Linked DNA regions of Homo sapiens: region 1 is linked to region 2. The links are contacts of gene promoters, found by promoter capture Hi-C in blood cells and fetal thymus (Javierre and others, 2016). All regions are on one chromosome and are shown on one strand. The core of a region is centred on a gene start or on the middle of the fragment in contact, and the rest is flanking DNA. Distances in the headings are between cores, read along the strand shown.

Evidence for each region. The method cuts DNA at HindIII sites, captures the fragments that hold promoters and counts their contacts. A CHiCAGO score of 5 or more calls a contact.
Region 1: a fragment that was not itself captured here is called in contact with the fragment with the promoter of CYB5R2 in region 2 in 1 of 17 cell types (naive B cells); the score reaches 5.0 in naive B cells.

Annotation. Positions count from the first base shown.
Region 1 is chr11:7,338,336-7,342,911 of GRCh38, forward strand. The region is part of intron 3 of SYT9 (synaptotagmin 9); the gene reads left to right. Among named protein-coding and RNA genes, the nearest start is that of SYT9, 89 kb to the left of the region's middle. The HindIII fragment of the contact is 763 bases long and covers 1,276-2,038 here.
Region 2 is chr11:7,671,868-7,676,115 of GRCh38, forward strand. It overlaps CYB5R2 (cytochrome b5 reductase 2), which reads right to left and starts at 1,633. Exons shown (of 9, transcript NM_016229.5): 1 at 1,552-1,633; 2 at 881-1,024; 3 at 584-656. The coding sequence starts at 958. RefSeq lists enhancers at 1,246-1,295, 1,316-1,415 and a silencer at 1,936-2,145. The HindIII fragment of the contact is 8,029 bases long and covers 1-4,248 here.

The DNA of each region.
Region 1 (4,576 bases), core at 407-2,906, 330 kb before region 2:
CATGTCTCAATATTCTTCAGTTCAGCTCTGATTTTCATTTCTTGTCTTCTGCTAGTTTAGAGTTGCTTCACTCTTGCTTCTATAGTTCTTTTAGTTGTGATGTTGGGTTGTTAATTTGATACCTTTCTAGCTTTTTGATGTGTGTGTTTAGTGCTGTGTATTTCCCTCTTAACACTACCTTAACTATGTACCAGAAATTCTGTTATGTTGTGTCTTTGTTCTCATTAGTATCAAAGAACTTCTTGATTTCTGCCTTAATTTCATTATTTACCCCAAAGTCATTCAGGAGCAGGTGGTTTAATTTCCATGTAATTGCATGGTTTTGGGTGATTTTTTGTCTCGATTTCTATTTTTATTGTGCTATGATCTGAGAGTGTGTTTAGTATGATTTTGGTTGTTTTGCATTTGCTAAGGATTGTTTTATGTCTGATCGTGTGCTCGATTTGAGTATGTGCCATGTAGTGATGAGAAGAATATATATTCTGTTTTTGAGTGGAGAGTTCTGTAGATGTATATCAGGTCCATTTGGTCCAATATTGAGTTCAGGTTCTGAATATCTTTGTTAATTTCCTGCCTCAGTGATCTGTTGAATAATGGCAGTGGGGTGTTTAAGTCTCCCACTATTATTGTGTGAGAGTATAAGTATTTTTGTAGGTCTCTTAAGAATTTGCTTTATGAATCTGGGTGCTCCTGTGTTGGATGCATATATATTTAGAATAATTAGGTCTTGTTAAATTGAACTCTTTACCAATATGTAATGACCTTCTTTGGGCTTTTTTTGTTTGTTTGATCTTTGTTGTTTTAAAGTCTGTTTTTATCTGAAGTTAGGATTGCAACTCCTGCTTTTTTCTGATTTCCATTTTCTAGGTAGATTTTCCTCCATCCCTTTATTTTGAGGCTATAGGTCTCATTGCATGTGGAATGGGTCTCTTGAAGACAGCATGTCCTTGGGTCATGCTTTTTTTATCCAGCGTGCCATTCTGTGCCTTTTAAATGGGGCACGTAATCCATTTACATTCAAGGTTAATATTGATATATGTGCATTTGATCCTGTCATTGTGTTGATAGCTGGTTGTTACGCCAGCTTGTTTGTGTGGTTGCATTTTAGTGTCCCTGGTCTGTGTACTTAAGTATGTTTTTGCACTGACTGCTAACAGCCTTTCCTTTCTATATTTAGTGTTCCTTTCAAGATCTTTTGTAAGGCAGGTCTGGTGATAACAGACTCCCTTAGCATTTGCTTGTCGGAAAAGGATCTTATTTCTCCTTTACTAGGGAAGCTTAGTTTGGTTGGATATGAAATTCCTGGTTGAAGATTTTTTTTTCCTTAAGAACTTTGAATATAGGCCCCCTAATCTCTTCTGGTTCGTAGAGTTTCTGCTGAGAAGTCTGTTGTTAGTCTGATGGTGTTCCCTTTGTAGGTGACCAGTCCTTTCTCTCTAGCTGCCTTTAGCATTCTTTCTTTCATTTCAACCTTGGAAAATCTGATGATTATGCATCTTGGAGATGATCTTCTTGCGTAGAATCTTGCAGGGATTTTCTGTGTTTTCTGAATTTGACTGTTGGCCTCTCTAAGAAGGTTGGGGAAGTTTTCATGGACAATATCCTGAAATATGTTTTCCAAGTTGTTTGCTTTCTCCTCATACCTTTCAGGAATGACAATGATTAATAGATTTGGCCTGTTTACATAATCCCATATTTCTCAGAGGTTTTGTTTGTTCCTTTTCATTGTTTTTTTCTTTATTTTTGTCTGACTGCCTTATTTCAAAAAGCCAGTCTAAAAGTTCTGAGATTCCTTCCTTAGCTTGGTCTGTTCTGCTGTTAATACTTGCAATTGTATTGTGAAATTCTTGTAATGTGTTTTGCAGCTCTATCAGGTCAGTTAGGTTCTCTTTTATATTGGCTATTTTTTCTATCAGCTCCTGAATAATTATATTGTGATTCTTAGTTTTCTTGAGATGAGTTTGCCATTCTCCTAAATTTTAACAATCCTTGTTCCTATCCATATTCTGAATTCTATTTCTGTCATTTCAGACAACTAAGCTTTGTAACAAACCCTTGTTAAAGAACTAGTGCAGACATTTGGAGGATATAAGACACTCTGACTATTGGAGTTGTTGGAGTTCTTGTGCTGGTTCTTTCTCATCTCTGCATGTGGGTATTCTTTTAACTGCTGGGCTGCTTCTGATTGAAGTGGTCAGGCAGGAGCAGGGTTATTGTGCTAGAGTCTGAGATCAGGCAGCCCTAACCAGTGAGGATAAGTGAGGACCAGGACCTGTATGGAGAACAATCCAGTCACTTTTCTGTGAGGTAGGTGTTCTGTACTGGAGGTCTGGACAAGCCCCTGGTGCCTGCAGACTCTCTAGAGCCTGGAGACAGCAAGGGTGATGGCTGCAAGACAGCAAAGATGGTAATCCACCCTTCCCACTGGGAGTTCTGTCCCAGGCAATTGCAGAGCTATTACTGGCTCAGTAGCCCCAGTGGGGAATAGTGGAGTCTTAGGCCAGGAGGCCACATCCAGTGAGGAGATACAGGATTAGGGAGCCACATAACAAACACTCTGGCTACTTTTTCACAGGGCTGCTGCAGTGTGCTGGGGGTCTGCTCCAGTTCCTACTCACCTTGGATTTTCTAGCACCTGAAAGTATCAACAGTGAAGGTTGTGAAACAGCAAAGATGATGGTCTGTCCCTACCTCTGGGAGCTCTGTCTCAGGGAAGTTTGAAGCTGTTACTAGCTGGAAAACACCAGCAGAGGTGCTTGTAGACCTTGGCTGGGAGATTCTACCCAGTGAAGAGAAATGGGATCCAGGACCTGCATGAAAATGCAGTCTTCCTGCTTCTTCAGAGAGCTGCTGTGCTGTACTGGAGGACTGCTCCAGTCTCTACACACCTCGGACTCCTTTGAGTTGGAAAACATTAATCTTGTGTTTAGGCACAGGATGTAAGGGCTACTGGAAGATGCTTCTGATATGCGTTGGCTGTGTCCCCACCTAAATCTCATCTTGAAATGTAGCTCCCACAATCCCCATGTGTTGTGGGAGGAACCTGGTGGGAGGTAATTGAATCATAAGGGTGGATTTTTCCCATGCTGTTCTCATGATAGTGAATAAGTCTCATGAGATCTAATGGTTTTATAAAGGGCAGTTCCCCTGCACACGTTCTCTTACCTGCTGCCATGTAAGACATGCTTTTGCTCCTCTTTCACCTTCTGCCATGATTGTGAGGCCTCCTCAGCCATATGGAACTGAATCCATTAAACCTCTTTTTCTTTATAAATTACCCAGTCTTAGATATTTCTTCATAGCAGTATGAAAATGGACTAAGACAGCGGCCATGAGACTGAGTTGGTTTTATGAAGCAGAGGAGTCAAGTTTAAATCACATATATGATTACATATGTGTAATCATACTGTGTGTAATCATACTGATATGACTCACATCTCAGTCATATTTGCAAGAAGCAGTCAGTCTTTGTATTATTTCATTTTCATGCTGCTGATAAAGACATACCCAAGACTGGGTAATTTATAAAGAAAATGGTTTAATGGACTCATAGTTCCACGTGGTTGGCAAGACCTCACAATCATGGTGGAAGGCAAAAGGCATGGCTTTATGGCAAGAGGGAATGAGAGCCAAGTGAAAGGGGAAACCCCTTATAAAAACATCAGATCTCATGCAACTTATTCACTGCCATGAGAACAGTATAAGGAAAACTGCCCCCATGATTCAATTATCTCCCACCAGGTCCCTCCCCCAGCATGTGGAAATTATGGGAGCGACAATTCAAGATGAGATTTGAGAGGGGACACAGAGCCAAATCATATCATTCCACCCCTGGGCCTCTCCCAAATCTCATGTCCTCACATTTCAAAACCAATCATGCCTTCCCCAAAGTCCCCCAAAGTCTTAAATCATTTTAGCATTAACTCAAAAGTTCATAGTCCAAAGACTCATCTGAGACAAGGCAAGTCCCTTCCACCTATGAGCCTGTAAAATCAAAAGCAAGTTAGTTACTTCCTAGATACAATGGAGGTACAGGCATTGGATAAATACACGCATTCCAAATGGGAGAAATTGGCCAAAACAAAGGGGCTAAAGACCCCATGGGAGTCTGAAATCCAGCAGAGCAGTCAAATCTTAAAGCTCCAATATGATATCCTGTCTCATATCCATGTCTCATATCCAGGTCACACTAATGCAAGAGGTAGGTTCCCATGGTCTTGGGCAGCTCTGCCCCTGTGGCTTTGCAGGGTACAGCCTCCCTCCCGGCTGCTTTCGTGGGCTGGCATTAAGTGTCTGCAGCCTTTCCAGGTGCACAGTGCAAGCTGTAGGTGGATCTACCATTCTGGGGTCTCGAGGACAGTGACCCTCTTCTCACAGCTCCAGTAGGCAGTGCCCCAGTGGGGACTCTGTGTGGGGGCTTCAACACCACATTTCCCTTCCACACTGCCCTAGCAGAGGTTCTCCATGAGGGCCCTGCCCCTGCAGCACAATCTGCCTGGACATCCAGGCATTTCCATACAACCTCTGAAATCTAGACAGAGGTTCCCAAATCTCAATTCTTTACTTCTGTGCACCC
Region 2 (4,248 bases), core at 383-2,882:
CAACTCGTAGGGCTGGTCCCTCCTTATGTGGGTCTGAGGCCCCTGCAGAGAATCTAAGTGACCTTGGGGGCAGGGCACACCTGACTCATTCCTGCCTACCCGCACATTCTGGGCCTTTCCCCGACCACTGGTTCCTCCCATCCCTCCCAGGTGCACAATACTTTGTAGTTTCTGAATTTTCATATCCATCAGTCACTCTACTTTCACAACAACCCAAGTGAGGTAGACAGGCAGGCCTGGGAAATCCCATTTCATAGACTGAGGCTCAGAGAGATTGAAGGACTTCCCTTAAGTTCCCCAGCAAGGAGCCTTCCATGAGATTTTAGGCCTTTTGGCTCTAGGTTCAGTTCTTTTCAATGCTCACTGAGGTACCACTCTCGTGTCAGCCCAATTGGAATAATGAAGAAAAGAAATTTTCTGTCCCACATCCATCCCCCTATCTATCTCCCTGAGCTCACAGGCTCAGGAGGAGCAAGAGGGCATCTTCCACACCTCAGGACGTGGGAAACCTGTGTTTCTGTTAAGAGAGGAGGGCCTAGCCCCCAGAGGCCCCAGTCCTGGTGATGACCCAAGCCCGGCTCACCTACAGGAAGCCCTAAGACATGGTCCGGCGAAGGCAGTCCAAAGCGGAACCTCCGGGTGTTGTGGCTGATTTTCTGATAAAACAAAACATAGGCAGGTTCTGTCAGCTTTCTAGAAGCCTTGCTGGGCAGCTGAGATGCCTGGGAAAGGAGGTCCGTTTGGCGCTATTCCAGCACACACACACACACACACAGGGCGGCGGGGAGTGAACTGGAGGCCATGAGATGACTGTCTGGATGCCCTGCCATCCCAGCCATCATCCACTTACTGCCTTCCACCCACAGGGCTGACCCATTACCTCTTTCTCAATCAAGGGCAGCGGGTACTTGGCTTCAGGGTCCTGTAAGGTGATTGGCTCTCTCCTCCTGGAGTTCATGCTCTTCAGGACCAACACGAGCACAGTGACCCCAGTGACGGTGATGGTCAGGAGCAGGGACGGGTCCTGGCAGACACAATGTGAACAGAGCACCTCAGGTCTTGCCCGCCCTGGACAGGGCAGCTCTCAGGCGCAGAACACCCTCCCCACACCAAAGGCACAGGAGCTGAGCTCTGCCTGCAGGAAATAGGCAAAGAGAACAGTAGTGACACAGAAGGCGGCTGGGAGAGCCTGTCGTGGACCAGAGGGTAGGGAGGGGTCAGCTGCAGGTCACACAGGAAGGATGTTTCAGGCCCCTGGAGCAGGCAGCACACATGGCCTGGGGTGCTCAGGTCACTAGGCCCCTCCTGGCTACAGCCAAAGGTTCATACACTGGAAGTCCCTTCCTTGAGGTGAAGGGGGAGGACATCACCCCTAACACACAATCCGGAATGAGGGGCCCAGTCCCTAAAGACAGAACTAGGGTGCGTAGCTCTAAGAGGTGCCCCGTGACTTAGGGCCTGGGGACTCCCCAACAGTCTCCTGGACAGGGCGAAGGGGGCCTGGGCACTCAACTGCCAGAGACTCGGGAGCCTCCCCGCATCTGTCCCTACCCTACAAGGCCGCCCTGCTCCTCTCCCAACTCAAGCCCGACAGGGAAAGTTGCCTCTCCTCCCGCCGGGTCACTGGAGTCTCAGCCTTCCGGAATCCGAGCCGGCCCGCCCCACTCCCCGCCCTTCGCGGTCCCGCCCACGACCTCTCCCCACGCCTCCCGCTCCGGCCCCCAACCTCCCGGTCGGACGTTCGTTCCCGGCTCTAGCCGGCCTCCGCGCCTCTGGCCTCTTTCCTTCCGGCCGTCCCGACGGAGATATTTCTTCAATACTCCATAAATACACCCCGCCGCGGAACCCACCCGGAGTGAGACGCCCAACACGTCGTCGAACTGGGGTTGGCCGGGGGCCGCTCCCCGCCGCGGGCCCGCAGACTCGTGGCGTCGCCCCGCAGCTCCGCCTGGCCGACGGGGAACCGGCCGAGACCCGGACACGCACGCCCGGGAGGACAAAAGCGCGGGCGGACCCCGCAGGCTGGGACCCCGGCGGCTGGCCCGCTCCCCGAGAAGGGCCGTGGTCGGGGGGCTCTCACTCACGAGCCGCTGGCTCTGGGTCAGCCCTGCCCCCAGGGCAGCGCTCCATCATGAGGCTGGCGGGGCGCTGAGCCGTGGCGTCCTCGCTCCTGCGCTGCCCCTCTGCATCCTGGCCCCTTCCCTGCACACGCAGAGCTGCCACACTGAGCGCCCCTCAGCTTACTTAAGCTCGGCAAGGCTGGAGAAGGCCGTCTGGGTGACCGGGCGGAGGGGGATGCTGGGGAAGGAAGAATTCAGGCAGCTGCAAAGAGCGCGCGAATATATTCATTCGACATACCTCATGGGCGCCTACCCTGGGCCTGGTCCGGGGCGGGTGTTTGCGGGGTGGGGCCGAAGCAGGGGCGTCGCCGAGTTGAAGACGTGTACTCCGAGCGCTCCTGCGTTCATTCATTCGCTGGGTGGAGAGAGGAAGGACAAGAGCCCCGCGCCGATCGGAGGGGAGCAGAATAGTAGGCACAGTTAGAGGGTCTTCACGGTGCGTTTCGGAACCTTGGCTGCCCGGCTCGCCCTTGATTACAGGCAAAGGCAAATTCTTGCCTCAGGACCTGTGTGAAACAGAGAAGCCCAGAAGCAGATCCCCACCTGTTTGACTCTGCTAGGGCTGCTGTAACAAAGTGCCGCAGACTGAGCGGCTTAAACAACAAAAATTTATTGTCTCGCAGGTCTGGGGGCTGGAAGTCCAAAATCAAGGTGTGGGCAGAGTGGGTTCCTTCTGAGGGCTGTGAGGGAAGGATCTGTTCCATGCCTCTCCTAGGTTTGTAGGAGAGGGGCTAGGAGAAGGGGCATCTTCTTCCTATGTCTCCACATTTTCATCCCTCTGTGTGTGTCCCTGTGTCCAAATTTCCCCTTTTATGAAGACACCAGTCATATTCAATTAGGGTCCATCCTAATGACCTTGTTTTAACTTGATTACCTATGTAAAGGCTCTACCTTCAAATAAGGTCATATCCTTAGGTACTGGGGCTTAGGGCTTCAACATAAGAATCAGGGTGAAAACAATAACCCATAACACTTTACCAACCCTTCTCCCCAAGACACACACCACCACAGGCTCAAAAATTCTTGCTGTGTGAATGAATAAACAAACTTAATTTTCTCTCTTTGACTTAATCAAATGCCTTTACTTTTGATTTACCTGCAGGTGCTTGGTTATTATAGGCAGATATTTTAATTTTTGACAATGCGATAAGTGTAAAATGATGTATCAGGAATCCAATTTGCATTACCTAATAACTGCTAATAAGTTTGAGCACCTTTCATATATTTATTTCCCATGGAGTTTCCTTTTCAGAAAAAAAAAAATGCCTGCTCATAAATTTTGCTCATTTTTCTGTTGTCTTTTTCTTACTGATTTTTAGGGGTTTTATATGTTTTAGATATCCCTTCTTTGCCAGTTACATGAATTAGTAATGTTTTCTCGTAATTTGTAACTTATTCTTTCTTTTTTCTTTCTTTCTTTTCTGTCCCACCTTTTTGTGGTGTAGTCTGATGAATAGAAATTTGAATTGCAGTATAACCAAATATACCAATCTTCAATTTTTTTGCCGTTATGGTTAGTGATTTTTGTGACTTGTCTATTTCTACCCAAGCCCTTAAAGATATTCTATATTTTCCCCAACAAGATTTAAAGATTTTCCTTTCACATTTAAGTTTTTCAACCACTTGGAATTGATTTCTGTGTAGGATGTGAGGCAGGGATACAATTTCATTTTTCCATGTGGCTAATGTGTGTTTTTCAGTAACATTTATTGAATTGCTCACATCTGGCCACTGACCTGCAACTGACCTGCTACCCCTGGCCTATATCAGTTTTCATAGGTGTGTGAGTCTAGCTCCGGCCTCCCATTTCTCTTACATTATCTAGCTGCCCAACCTTGTCGCAATACTACACTGTTTTAGTTACGGTAGTTTACAACAAGTGTTTATGTCTTTCATTCTTATACATTCTTTAGATCTCAGGTCAGATATCACTCCCTTGGAGATGCCTGCTGTGATCCCCCAACTTAAGTACATGTACATATTATAATCTGTTAAGTTTAACTTAAAGCTGCCTCCTTAATGTTTTAGTTTCACCCTAAAAGTTTCTTCGTACATAGTGAACTGTAACCTACTCTTGTATCAATCATGGAAGTTTCAGCCCATTATAGGCAGCCAACTGTTCAGACTG